2 separate regions of the Homo sapiens genome follow, and region 1 is linked to region 2. Evidence: promoter capture Hi-C in 16 types of primary human blood cells and fetal thymus (Javierre and others, 2016). All regions are on one chromosome and are shown on one strand. The core of a region is centred on a gene start or on the middle of the fragment in contact, and the rest is flanking DNA. Distances in the headings are between cores, read along the strand shown. Region 1 overlaps PIK3CA-DT (PIK3CA divergent transcript). Region 2 holds the start of GNB4 (G protein subunit beta 4).

What was found. Contacts are between HindIII fragments. The CHiCAGO score rates a contact against its expected background, and 5 or more counts as called.
Region 1: a fragment that was not itself captured here is called in contact with the fragment with the promoter of GNB4 in region 2 in 2 of 17 cell types (naive B cells and neutrophils); the score reaches 6.3 in naive B cells.

Annotation. Positions count from the first base shown.
Region 1 is chr3:179,139,274-179,146,929 of GRCh38, reverse strand. The region is part of intron 1 of PIK3CA-DT (PIK3CA divergent transcript); the gene reads left to right. Among named protein-coding and RNA genes, the nearest start is that of PIK3CA-DT, 4.9 kb to the left of the region's middle. The HindIII fragment of the contact is 1,329 bases long and covers 1,947-3,275 here.
Region 2 is chr3:179,445,730-179,452,829 of GRCh38, reverse strand. GNB4 (G protein subunit beta 4) reads left to right here and starts at 1,360. Exons shown (of 10, transcript NM_021629.4): 1 at 1,360-1,484. It also overlaps the pseudogene RPL29P34. RefSeq lists silencers at 1,190-1,339, 1,380-1,789. The HindIII fragment of the contact is 16,902 bases long and covers 1-7,100 here.

The DNA.
Region 1 (7,656 bases), core at 1,362-3,861, 310 kb after region 2:
AACACTGTTACTCCAGAGTACAGATTTTTTTAAAAAAGGAACACTGAATTGCTAGTCAAAGTAAATTTTAAGGCAATATATCCCAAATTGTGTTTCAAGCACAGAGTTATATGAGATATTAATAGGTAGACCTTGGTGGGGAAAAATATACTAGGGATATTTTTCCTTATAAAATTTATTATTTATTTATTATTATTATTTTTTTGAGCCAGAGTCTCACTCTGTAGCCCAGGCTGGAGTTCAGCGGTGCAGTCTCGGCTCACTGCAGCCTCTGCCTCCCGGGTTCAAGCGATTCTTCTGCCTCAGCCTCCCGAGTAGCTGGGATTACAGGCACCAGCCAACATGCCAGCTAATTTTTGTATTTCTTAGTAGAGACGGGGTTTCACCATGTTGGTCAGGCTGGTCTCAAACTTCTGACTTCAGGTGATCCACCCCCCTCGACTTCCCAGAGTGCTAGGATTACAGGCGTAAGCCACCGCACCTGGCCTATTTGTGATTTTTAAAAATGTTTTATTTTTTGTAAAGACAGGGTCTTGCTTCGTTGCCCAGACTGGTCTCCAACTCCTGGGCTCAAGAGATTCATCTACCTCGGCCTCCCAAAGTGTTGGGATTACAGACTTCAGCCGACATGCCCAGCCTAAAATTTATTTTTTAATAAGAAAATGCTAATTACATAATATGTTTTTTGTTATGTGATTATCTGCCCCTAAGAAGTTGTGTGTCATAGCAGAAAAAGCCATACCTGGTACTTGAATGCATGACACCATTCATTGGTACAGGAGTAGCATTTACTATTCAATTCACGGTTGATAATGTTTGCCTTATATGTAAGCCATTGGTCTTAGGTGTCATCTTGCTTTCAAAGGTTTTTGCAATGTTATTCAGTGTTTAAAATATCTATATGATATAAAAATATCTGTATGATATAAGCATCTATATGACCAAACTCATCACTCAAGGATTAGGAGCTGAAAGAAGGTTTTAAAAAAATAATGATTCTCAGGCTGTAAATGAAACAAAAAATGGTATACTTCAAAATTAAATAATTGCATCCTAAGGGTTCTAAAGACGGGAGGTGAAATGTCCAGTATGTAGCTATTGTTCTATTCTAATAATCAGAATTATAATGACAGTTACTTGCCTTTTGGGTTTATTTCCATTGAAAATCATAACTGATACTCAAATATGCACCGAAACATTCTCTAATAGCGCTTAAGTCACTACTAAGCTTTGAAGTCCTTTGTAAATAAGAGTCAAGTTGATTATGTAGCAGTATACTTTAGATGTATAAAATTGCCAAGTCAAACAATAAAAACACACCAAGAGATAACGATATGAGTTACCATGTAGCACTGTTTTTTTTTTTTTTTTTTTTTTTTTGAGATGGAGTCTCGCTCTGTCACCCAGGCTGGAGTGCAGTGGCGCGATCTTGGCTCACTGCAACCTCTGCCTCCCAGGTTCAAGTGATTCTCCTGCCTCAGCCTTCCGAGTAGCTGGGACTACAGGCACGTGCCACCACGCCCGGCTAATTTTTGTATTTTTAGTAGAGACGGGGTTTCACCATATTGGTCAGGCTGGTCTTGAACTCCTGACCTCATGATCCGCCCGCCTTGGCCTCCCAAAGTGCTGAGATTACAGGTGTGAGCCACCACGCCTGACCGAGACTCCATCTTAAAAAAAAAAAAACCATACACCCACACACACATACACACACGTACTTTTAAGATTTCAGTTCTTTTCAAGTTAAGATTTGTGTTGCCCCAGAATATCTTGGTGAATGTCCCATGTGCACTTATGAAAGAATATTTTGTTTGCTATTGTTGGGCAGAATGTAGTTTCTTACCAAGTTGATGATTTTGTTAGCATTGATGTTTCAAAATATAATTGTGGATTTCTTTATTTCTCATTTCACTTCTGTGTATTTTTACTTTGTGTGTTTTGAAGCTTTGTTGTTAGATGTATACACATTTAGAACTCTTGTGTTTTGATACATTGACTCTTTTTAATCAATCTGTACTATCTCTCTTTATTCCTAGTAATATCTTTGTTCTGAAATCTACTTTGTCTGATATTAATACAGCCAGTCCAGCTTTTTTTGATTAATTTTTCCATGGTATTTTTTCCCATCTTTTTTATATCTATTTTTATATTTAAAGTGAGTTACTCGTAGACAACACGTATTAGATCTCTTTTTAAAAATTCCAATCTGACAATTTCTGTGTTTTAATTGCTGTGTTTAATTTACATTTAATGTAATTATATGGATTTAGGCTTGCCATTTTATTATTTGTTTTCTGTTTTTCCTCTATACTTTTGTTTTTATGTTTCTACTTTCCTGCTTTCTTGTGGATTATTTGAAAAATTTTTAATATTCCATTTTAATTTCTATATTGTAGTTTTAATATATTTCTTGGTAATTTTTTGGTAATTCTATGGATTATAATATACATACCTAAAGTTTTGCGGTCTACTTAGTATTACTATTACACCACTTCAAGTAAAATGTAGAAAGAAGCCTTGCAACCGTGTAGATTTACCACTGTCTCCTACCCCACTCCCTGACCTTTATGTCATTAGTTGGCATATGTATTACATTTATATATATGGAAGCCCCATCAGATGTTTTTATAATTTTTGCTTTCAACAGTCATATAGAACTCAAGAGGAAAAATAATCTTTTATATTTACGTATCCATTTACATTTATGTTTTGCTTCATTCCTGAAAATCCATTTTTCCTTCTGGTATAATTTCCCTTTATCCTGAAGAATTTTAACATTCTTTTTAGAGAAAGTCTGCTTGTGACAAATTCCCTTCATTTTCCTTCATTTGAGAATATTTTACTTTTGCCTTCATTTCTGCAAAATATTTTAGCTGATTATACAATTCTCGGTTAATGGTTTTCTCCCCTCCCTGACCCATCAGTACTTTAAAGAATCATCATTGCATTTCTTAGGAGATGAAGAGCAAACCCTGTACTTTCCTCAAAATTCCACTATGTGAGCTAAGAGATCTAGTATCTGAGAAGTTCACCTTAAAACACTTAACAGTCAATGTTTTTCATTCCAGCCATGCCTTGCCTAGAGTCAGATATGAATGTCATTACTATCACACAACCATGTTAAAGTCTAACTGCTCTACTTACACTTAGCACGGGAGGATTCTGGCAAAGCTCCTTTCCATACTTGAAATACAAAACAATTCTGGCCACAGAAAGGAGACAAATGTGTAATGTTCTCAAGTTACCAGGAGTGCACTTATGGAGAAATCAAAGCTTTGAAATTCGTAAAAGACTATTTTCAGCCAGGTGTGTTGGCTCACGCCTGTAATCCCAGCACTTTGGGAGGCTGAGGTGGGTGGATCACTTGAGCCCAGCAGTTTGAGACCAACCTGGGCAACAGGGCGAAACGCCGTCTCTACAAAATAATACAAAAAAATTAGCCGGTCCTAGTGGCATGCATCTGTAGCCCCAGCTACTCGGGTGGCTGTTGCTGAGGTGGGAGGATCCGCTGAGCCCAGGAGTTTGAGGCTGCAGTGTGCTGTGAGCATGTCATTGCACTCTAGCCTAGGCGACAGAGCAAAACCATGTCTCCAATAAGTAAATAAATAAATTAATTTAAAAAACATAAAAAAGACTATTTTCAGGTCTCATCTGTGGTCATTCAAATAGTTTCCCCCAATACGTAATTTTTCTTTTTTCTCTGGATTATATCAAGATTTAAAAATTTAGTTGGGAGGCCGAGGTGGGTGGATCACGAGGTCAGGAGATCGAGACCATCCTGGCTAACATGGTGAAACCCCGTCTCTACTAAACAATACAAAAAATTAGCCGGGTGTGGTGGCGGGCGCCTGTAGTCCCAGCTACTCGGGAGGTTGAGGCAGGAGAATGGCGTGAACCCGGGAGGCGGAGCTGGCAGTGAGCCGGGATTGCGCCACTGCACTCCAGCCTGGGTGACAGAGCGAGACTCCGTCTCAAAAAGAAAAAAAAAAAGTTTAAAAATTTAGGTTTTAAATGGTTTGATTCTGATATGCTGAGGTATTGTTTTATTTCTTCTGTTTGTGTGTGTCTAGTTCCTGAATTTGTAAAATTATGTATTTCACTAATTTTGGGAAGTTTTCAGAAATTACTTTTTCCAAATATTTTTCTGCCCCAGTTATTTTATTCTCTTCTGGGAATCCAGTGACAAGAATGTTAGCTGTTTTGAAATTGTCCTACATGTCTCTAAGGCTCTGTTCATTTTTTTTTCCAATCTTTTTTCCTCTCTCTTGTTCCTCATATCTATCTATGCTGGATATTTTCTGTTGCTATATCTTGTAGTTCACTTACTTTTGTCTCTGTCATGTCTGTTCTGCTATTGAGCTCCCCCAGATATTTTTAAAATCTTAGATATTGTATTTTTTAACTCTTCATTTTCTGATTGGCTCTTTTTTCAATGGTTTCTGTTCCTCTCCTGAGTACCTATACCTTTCTGTTCATTTCAAGTTAGGTCTTTACCTCAGGGACCATAGTTAGTACCTACGTTAAAGTCTTTCTCTGATAATTCCAACATTTGGATCAACTCAGGATTGGCATTTGCTGATCGTCCTTTCCCTTGAGAATTGGACACATTTTCCTGTTTTTTTTTTTAATATGTCGAGTCATTTTGGATTGTATATTGGAAAATTTGAATATTATGTTGATTTGATTATGTGTTCTGTTATCCTCTGGATAATATTAATTTTTTGTTTGTTTTAGTAGGAAATCCATGTGACTAAGTGTACTCTTGCTTTCTGTGGAAAGTGATTCTAATCTCGGTTTTGATTTTAATGTCTTTCCTATGCTGCTTTGGTCCTACGCTGTGGATGTGCTTGCTACTCAGGGGTTAGTCTGAGCTATAGTTAGAATTTTCTTTTTCATTTTTCTTTCCGACTCTTATTTTGGGTTCAAGGGGTACATGTGCAGGTTTGTTACATGGGTAAATTGTGTGTCATGGGGGTTTGGTGTACAGATAATTTTGTCACCCAGGTAATCTCATAATACTCGAGAAGTAGTTTTCAGTCCTCACCTTCCTCCCACCCTCCACCCTCCCATAGGCTTCAGTGTCTATTGTTCCCTTTTTTGTGTCCGTGTATACTCAATGTTTAGCTACCACTTATAAGTAAAAACATGCAGTATTTGATTTTCTGTTCCTGCATTAACTCGTTTAAGATGACAGCTTCCAGCTCCATCCATGTTGTTGCAAAGGCCATGATCTCATTTTTTAATAACTGTGTAGTATTCCATGGTGTATGCATACCACATTTTCTTTATCCAGTCCACTGTTGATGGGCTTCTAGGTTGATTCTGTGTCTTTGCTATTGTGAATAGTGCTGTGATAAACATACGCATACCTGTGTCTTTATGGTAAATGATTTATATTTCTTTGGATGTATACCCAGTAATGAAATTGCTGGGTCAAATGGTAGTTCTATTTTAAGTTCTTTCAGAAATCTCCAGACTGCTTTCCACAGTGACTGAACTAATTTACATTCCCACTACCAGTGTATAAGTATTCCCTTTCCTCCACAACCTTGCCAGCATATGTTATTTTTTTGACTTTTTAATAATAGCCATTCTGACTGGTGTGAGATGATATTTCACTGTGCTTTAAATTTGCATTTCCCTAATGATTAGTGATATGGAGCATTTTTTCATAGGCTTGTTGACCGTGTGTTTATCTTCTTTTGAGAAGTGTCTATTCATGTCCTTTGCCCATTTTTAATGGGGTTGTTTGTATTGTGCTTGTTGATTTGTTTATGCTCCTTATAGATTCTGAATATTAGAACTTTGTTGGATGTGTAGTTTGCAAATATTTTCTGCCATTCTGTATACATTGTCTGTTTGCTTTATTGGTAGTTTCTCTTGCTGTGCAGAAGCTCTTTCATTTAATTCGGTCTCATTTTTCAATTTTCGTTTTTGTTGCAATTGCTTTTGGCATCTTTGTCATGAAATCTTTGCCTGGGCCAATGTCCAGAATGGTATTTCCTAGATTTTTTTCTAGGGTCTTTATAGTTTTAGGTTCTCTATTTAAGTCTTTAATGCATCTTGAGTTGATTTTTGTATATGGTGAAAGTTACAGGTTTAATTTTAATCTTCTGCATGTGACTAGCCAGTTATCCCAGCAGCATTTATTAAATAGGGAGTCCTTTCCCCATTGCTTGTTTTTGCAACTTTGTTGAAGATAAGGTGGTTATAGATATATGGCTTTATTTCTGGGCTCTGTATTCTGTTCCATTGGTCTATGTGTCTGTTTTTGTATCAGTACCATGCTGTTTTGGTAACTTTTTTTTTTTTTTTTTTTTGAGATGGAGTCTCGCTGTGTTGCCTAGGCTGGAGTGCAATGTCAAGATCTCAGCTTACTGCAACTTCTGCCTCCCAGGTTCACGCCATTCTCCTGCCTCAGCCTCCCAAGTAGCTGGGATTACAGGTGTCTGCCACCACGCCTGCCTAATTTTTTTTTTTTTTTTTTTGTATTTTTAGTAGAGACGGGGTTTTACTATGTTGGCCAGGCTGGGCTTGAACTCCTGACCTTGTGATCCACCCACCTTGGCTTCCCAAAGTGCTGGGATTACCAGCGTGAGCCCCCTCGCTGTGCCTGGTTACTCTATCTTTATAGTATAGTTTGAAGTCAGATAGTGTGATGCTTCTGGCTTTGTGCTTTTTGCTTAGGATTGCTTTGGGTATTTGGGCTCTTTTTTGGTTCCAAATGAATTTTAGAATGTTTTTTTCTAATTCTCTAAAAAATGTCATTGGTAGTTTGACAGGATTAGCATTGAATCTGTAAATAGTTGTGGGCAGTATGACCATTTTTAAAATACTGATTCTTCCTATTCATGAGCGTAGAATTTTTTTCATTTGTTTGTGTCACCTCTGATTTTTTTCAACAGTGTTTTGTAATTCTCACTGTAGAGCTCTTTCACCTCCCTGGTTATCTGTATTCCAATTCCTTTTTGTTGCTGTTGTGAATAGGATTTCACTCTTGATTTGTCTCTCAGCTTGGATGTTATTGGTGTATAGAAATGGTACTGATGTTTGTACATTGATTTTGTATCCTAAAACTTTGCTGACATTGTTCATCAGATCTAGAAGCCTTTGGGCAGAGACTATGGGGTTTTTTGGGTATAGAGTCACATCATCCATGAAGAGAGAGAGTTTGACTTCCTCTCTTCCTGTTTGGATGCCTTTTATTTCTTTCTCTTGTCTGATTGCTCTGGCTACGACTTCTAGTGATATGTTGAATAGGAGTGTGGGAATGGGCATTTTTGTCTTATTCCAGTTCTCAAGGAGAATAGTTCCAGCTTTTGCCCATTCAGTATGATATTGGCTGTGGGTTTGTCATAGATATCTCCTATTATTTTAGGATATGTATCTTTGGTGTCTAGTTTGTTGAGGGTTTTTAATATGAAGGGATTTGAATTTTATCAAAAGCCTTTTCTGCATCTGTTGAGATGTTCATGTAGTTTTTGTTTCTGTTTATGAGATGAATCACTTTTATTGATTTGCATATGTTGAACCACACTCTGTATCGCAGAAATAAAGCCTACTTGATTGTGGTGGATTAGCTTTTTGATGTGCTGCTAGGTTTGGTTTGCTAGTATTTTATTGTGGATTTTTACATTTATGGTTGTCAGGGATATT
Region 2 (7,100 bases), core at 111-2,610:
GAGCTCTTCTGACACTTTGATATGCAGAATATTTGGCATTTCTTTCTTCTTAATGGAAAAATGCTCCTAATATTAGTAAAAATGAAAATTTTGGGGGAAAAATTATCCACAGTTTCTTTATCTGTGGATAAAGAAAATAGAAACAGCTGCTTCTATTTTTGTCACGGCCTGGCTTTTATACAAAACGGTCACATTTTCCCCACAGTCACAAACAGGGTGTGTTTATCATGGCATCACCTCTTTCAAGGGACTAATAGATTTATTCCAGGTGATAGTGGGAAGCAGCTACAGAAGGAGGATTGGAAGGCTGAGGGGTTGTTAAAGTTATCTGATGATATTGTTCGAACATTTCTCCGGCACAGAAACTCCACAAAGAACTCCTCTGCAGTTTTCGCTACCCAGGGCTGTTTCTTTAAATTGTTTGACGTCAGAGAAGGAATGCTATAGCAACAGTCTGTCAAACTGGAATTAACTCAGAAGAAAAATGGGGGTGGGGAGAGGAAAAATGCTCCCAGGCGGTACTGACTTCAGAGGAAGCAAATTGGATAGATGCATTTATTTTATGACATTTTAAACATAAAACACCCAGATAAATGTGAAAAAAAAAAAAACTCGATTGAGATGCATGTGGTGTTTAACTCATGCAGAGAAGAGCGACTTGGCAGGGATATCTGGAAGGCCTTCCAGTTTTATCAATGACAATAGGAACAATAACTTCCAAGTATTGGCCATTTATTTGGAGGCAGGCTTCGTGCAAACATCACTTCATTTAATATGCTTAGCACCTTTATGAGGCAGGTATCAGTATCTTTATTTTGGCGATGACGAAACTTAGGCCCGAGACGGTACACGGTCCTACAACTAGTGATGGAAGAGCGGGGACTGCAACGCAAGGTTGTGCAACTCTGGGCTTCAGTTTACTTTCTGACATTTAGAATTCCAGAATGGGAAACCTAAATGGGGCCTTTGGGGTCTTCTAGCTCTGCCCTTCGATCCTGCTAACAAGCAAACTGGCGCCTGTCAGCGCCGGAAAGGAAACTGGCCACGCCACTTAGACGGGCGCTACTTAGCAGCGTGCCCCGGCGCCACACCAACAAGAAAACGAAACTGCCCGGGAATGAATGTTTTTCTTCTCCTTCTGGCAGGAAACGAGAGAGAAAATAGGAAGCAGAAGCTGCGCGCGGCGCCCGCTCCCTTCGCCCCCCGCCCGGGCTGCGCGCGCTCCGAGGGTCTGCGCGTCCCCGGCACGTCCCCGCCGGGCCCGCGCGCCTCGTGCCTCGCGCCTCGCGCCTCCAGCCACGTCCCCGCCCCGGCTCCGGCGCGCCGCGGAGTTGGCTGCTGGGAGGTGCGGGACTGGGTGTGGCCGGCGGCTCTGGTCTCGGCTGTGAGCTGCGCTCTCCACGCCGGCTCCGCGCTCCAGGGGCTGCTGAGCGCCCAGCGGACACCGGCAGCGCGCGGTCGACGCGGGCCTGAGCTCCCTCCAGGTAGGCGGCGAGCTCGCGAGCGGCGGCTCGTCGGTGCGCCCCGCGAAGCGATCCCGGGCTTCTCGCAGGGACGTGGGGCGCCGCGAGCCACCCCTGCGGAACGGGGCCCGGGTGACGGCGCGGGGCGGGGCGGGTCTCCCCGGGCTCGGGCGGCCGACGCTGCCCGGGAGGGACGAGGAGGGCGCGCCTGTGTCGCGCCCAGCTGCCACGCGGGAACTGGCCCCACGACCGCCGGCGCAGGCACTTCCCGGGCGGTCCAGACCGCTCGCCCCGGGGAGCGAGGAACGGTCGGCGGTCCAAGTCCTGCAGACCCCCCTGGTTTCTCGTCACTCCCCGAGGCCTCCTTCCAGGAACTCAGAGCACGAGCCCGTGCGTGCCCCCAAAATAACGGGTATTCGGGACTGCCCAGCAGGGCTGTTGGGTGGAGAGTGCTTGGAAGACTCATAAAAGTTCTACGCTGAGTCCAAAATTAGTCCAATGGTTTTGTTTCAGATTTATTTTGGAAATGATATAATGTCCAGAGTTTGGGGATGGGAGGGGATTGATGAATTTTGAATACTTGTGAGTTCAGTACAATAAAAAGTGTTTTGCTTTTCTCTCCACCTTTTTCTGCTTCAGAACACAGATGATTGCCATATACTTTGATATGTATTGCTATTCGCTAAGGGAACGTTGAATTTTCAAAAGTTTGAAACCAGGCTTTCATTTGTTTATACAAGCAATACTTTGTTATTTTTCGTCTCCTTGTGTTCCCTTTTCTCCCACTCCTTCCCTTTCTCTTTCCATAAAGGATAAGGATGCATCTTTCTCCCTCTCAGCCACCGACAAAGTAGCTTGGCGTGTGGCTTAGCGGGAAGTTTTCTTAAAACGTTCAAAATTTAATTGTTGATTAGAACTTTTATTATGAGTCCGTCTCAGTGTTGCAAACAGAGTTTATGACCATTAAGTACATCTTCTAGGACAGAGACAGAACACACGCTACTTAATTTAAGATGGGAGGGAAGTTATTTCTAGTCGGAGAGGAGGACGGCTGATTAGGTGCATTCAAAATTGTGTGCTTCGAGTCTCTGCCATTGTTCATTTTAATACTCTTCAGTTTGGGGCTTTTGGTTTACTACTGATCCTAGGCTCTGAAAATTTACTGTATATTTCAGTATGTGGCTTAAAGACATTTTAAGATTTTCCATGTTGCATTTTGGTTTGTAGATGAATTTGAAACTGAAATAGAAACTTTTAAAATATCATCTTATTGAACGTTGTCAACCCTCTGTATATACATTTATAAAACTGATTGATACAGCTTGTGATATTTTAGGTTGGTTCAACTCTTTGTGGGCCCATAAACATTATTTAGGAAGTTATTCCGAGTCTTTGGCCTTTGTTAACCTGTAGAATTGTTTCTTTTAAACAATTGGCATGTAAGTATGTCAGCACATACTTTTACACTTTAAAAATAGACTCTGGGGCAATTTGAAAATTAAGAATTGGAACTAAGTGTTGGACATTCTTCTGGCCTTACCAAATACTGCCTGAGATGGTGTGATTTCTCTTAGGCATGTTATTGAAGTCAGCTGGCTGTATCATCAGTTTCTTTACCTTGCTGACTATTTTAATCTGCGTCTGTTATGGACTTATTTATTAAAATATCTCTTCTGGGCTGGGGCAGTGCTGTAAGTTATTCTACTTATATCTCACAGTAACACCATTATCTACTTCCACAGGTAAGGAAATTGTCTGTGAGGTTTTAAGTAACTTGGCAGTGGTCATGTAGGTGTTAGGTAACTCAACTGGGATTCGAAGCAAGACCCCTCTGTTTCCAAAGTCCATGTTCTTTCCCCTGAGCCATATTAACTTAGTTCGAGGGCATGAGGAGTGACCCTCAATTACTCATTAGCATGTGTGTAAAATATCCAAGACATGCCAGAAGCATGTTTGTTTTTCCAGCATGATCATTATTGTCTGTCCCATGTTTTTATACAGCTTCTCACATCAGCCATTCTCTTCTCACCACTCTACTCCTAGTTAAATGTCTTGTTCCAAGTTCAAAACCTCCCTTTTGCCAGGGCACAGTGTATCCTATTGATATTAATAGGTAGTGATGGCTTAATTATCTTGATAAAACAGTAACTCCATTTTAATGTGGGTTCTCTAGAGATAGAGTTATAACTAATTTGGAAGGTTACAAACAGGATTGCGGTCAATTTTGGGATATGAGAACCCTTTGATATCCCTCAAATTAAACTAGAGGATATTTTGATGGATATTTCCCTCTGCAATTTATCATACTCTCTCCTGCACCTTCAATTTGTCAGTTACTACAGAATCATTTACATTATTGTACAGTCTGCCATTTTAAAATAAAATGGTTTCTTGATCCAGTGTTCTGCTTCAGTGACTGCCTCATTTCTTTTTATTTATTTATTTTTATAAATAGAAGCGGGATCTCGCTGTGTTGCCCAGGCTGGTCTTGAACTCTTGGGCTCAAGCAGTCCACCCACCTCAGCCTCCCAAAGTGTTAGGATTACAGGCGTGAGCCACGGCGTCTGGCCCTGCCTCATTTCTCTACCTCACCTTGAGGAAGCGTAGTTTTTTGACAGAACAAAAAATAAATACAGGAGTGAGAACCAGAAACTAATTAGTTACCTACAGGCACCGGGTAGGAACTGAGTAAATGGGAACAACAGAAGGAATGGCCTTGTTCTGAATGTACTTTTTTGCATAGTTTTGAGTTTTGGAAACTGTTAGTCTTTTTTATGTTCAAAAATAAAATTAACAAGATGTGGAGAGTGGGACTCCAAAACAATACAAACAGCAACAACAAACCGTGTATTTATGTGAATAATATAAACTCCCAGAAGAAAAAAAAAAAAACCAAGTAAGTTTTGAGCACAGGATTAAAGATTAAAGAACTGAAAAAATAATCTTGAACTCTGTGTAGTAGGCTATTATTTGTATGGTAGAGGTGTAGCAATTCTGAAACTATTTTGTGTGCATTATAGGATTGAGCAAATGAGTAAATTCATTGATATTTTGGGAACTAGGGTTTCCAACGTGGAAGAAGAGAAATGAAAACATGAAACAGGCCAGGCGCGGTGGCTCACACCTGTAATCCCAGCACTGGGAGAAATGAAAAGTTAAAAATAAAACTTCAAACAATAACAATGCAGCTTTGCTTCAAAAAGAAAATCTTTGAAGGGACTCCATGTAGGCTGTCTCTACTCCTTATCTGCCATCTTCTTCTGAACCCGCTTCAGAGACACATTATCCCTCCTACTCCATGAAACAATTCTTCTCCAGGTCACCAGGGATGTCAGTCTTGCCAAACTGGATCTTCAGCCACATTTGACACAGGCAACAGATAACTCCTTCCCTATCAAAATGTCGTTTCCCCTTGGCTTCTGGGACACCGCTCTTTCTGATTTTCATCCTGCCTCATTGGCTACAGTTTCTCATTCTTCTCCATCTCAGTCAATGGTACCACCATCCACCAGTTGCTGAGGCTAAAAATTCTAATTCCCCATTTCACTCATTCTAAATCTATTCCTTCAACAGCAAGTATTATGGGCTCTACCTTCAAAATCACTGCAGATTGGACCATCTTTTTTAAAAAGTTAATTTGACCATTCCTATCACCTGCACTGCCACCACCACCACCCTGGTGTCAAACTGTATTCTTCCCTGGCCTGGATGACTGCAGGAGCCCCCCAACTGGTTTGTCAGCTTCCACTCTCTGTCTCCCACCAGCCAGCATGAACTTTAAAAGAGGTAAATCAAAGCAGGTTATATCTCAGTCGTCAGAACCCATTATTGTTAGATAAAATAAAAACGTTTTAGCCAGGCGTGGTGGTGCATATCTGTGGTCTCAGCTACATGGGAGTCTGAGGCGGGAGGATTGCTTGAGTCCAGGAGGTCAAAGTTGCAGTGAGCCATGTTTGTGCCTGGGCAATAGAGTGAGACCCCATCTGAAAAAAAATCAGGATTTTTTTTTTTTTTTTTTTTAATACCATGATCAAGAGACGGTGACTGGGCTCTGGCACACCCTTCTAGTCTCATCTGCTGCTCTCTGCCCTGCTCACTCTCTTCCAGCCTCGCCATCGTCACTGCTGTAGGTCCAGCATGTCAGGTTAGTTTCTGCCTGGGCCTTTGCTTGCTGTTCTGCCTGTAATGCTTTCTCCCAATGAAGACATAGCTCATCCTCTCATTTCATTCAGTCCTTACTTAATTTATTTGAAAATAGCCTTCCTCGTCACCCTCTAACCTCTTGAAGTTCTTGCAGTTTTTTTCTTGCATACGACTTATCTGTACTTAAAATTATGTTATTGATGTGCTGTATTATTTATCTCCTAGACAGATACAGAACAAAGCACTGTGGCAATAGGAAGTTTTGTTTTGTTTACTACCGAATCTCTAGAGCCTAGAATATGTTTGGCACATGGTCGGGACTCAGATATTTGTTGAATGAAGGAATGAATGCATGAATTAATATTTGTTGTATCTTAGCTAATGCCGTTTCAAATGGAGAAGACGGTTTCCAGAGAATCTTACAGCGTTAGTGCTACGTAAGGTGTTTGGTGATGCTGCTACAGCTTCTCTGAAAGCTAACAAGTTACCAACTTTGAGTGTTTTCACGTTATCACCTTTCTTTTGTATGCCCTCTGGTGGAGTGATGATAATAAGCGGCAAGTGAGTAGAATAGGTCAAGAAGAAACTAAAATACAAGAACCTAGATCACAAACTGGATAATTAACTTAAAAAAAATAGATTTGAAAATTTTAACTTTAGTTAAGCCTCCTGAATAATTACAATACGATTAGAAAGAATGAAAAGAAAATGAGCCACAGATTTGAAGAGAGATCTGGCTTAGGATGAAAAAATAACCTATTGAGCACACCCAAAATGTTTGGATCTCTTAAAAGAATTCCTGCTTAAATATACTTCTGTCCCTTGAAGTATTTTAATATTTTTCCATCTTTAGTTCAAAGACCTCTTTCTCTCAACTGTAGTAATAATTTCAGTGAACCTTTATTGACTACCATGTGTCGGTTAACGTACACAAGTGGTGAAGCCAGTGTTCAAACTCCAGCAGTGGAGGACCAGAGTCAGTGCCCTAAATCTTCATGCTTCACTACCACCTTTGTGCCAAGGTCGTGTGGATGGTACAGGGACCGGAGAATTTCCTTTGGAGCAATAGTTATGGACAGAAAAATGCTTGGTAAGTTCACAGTGTGTGTTCCTCAGTTCCATTTTCCAGTATGTTTATAGAGAGCCTTTTCTTCCAGAATTGCTGAAAGATGTGTTATTTTATCTTTTTTGAAATAGAAATCACATGAAATGTTTCTACACTCAGATGCTACTGACTTGCTGAAATAATATAAAGTTTCTCTTAGTGTCTATATTTCATATTTATGGCAGTAACAGCTTAATTGTTCCTCCACTTTTGGCTTTAGCAGGGTTTGTTCATATACTGTGTAGTTATTACAAAAGAAATGTAGTATACCTTACTGGGTAAGGACAAACTCCCACTGAGATGCTTGTCTTACTTGCAGTAGGAACCCTCTAAAAAAGAATTCGCTCAGAAGATATCATTATTCTTAGTATCTCTGCAAGTCAGAGCGC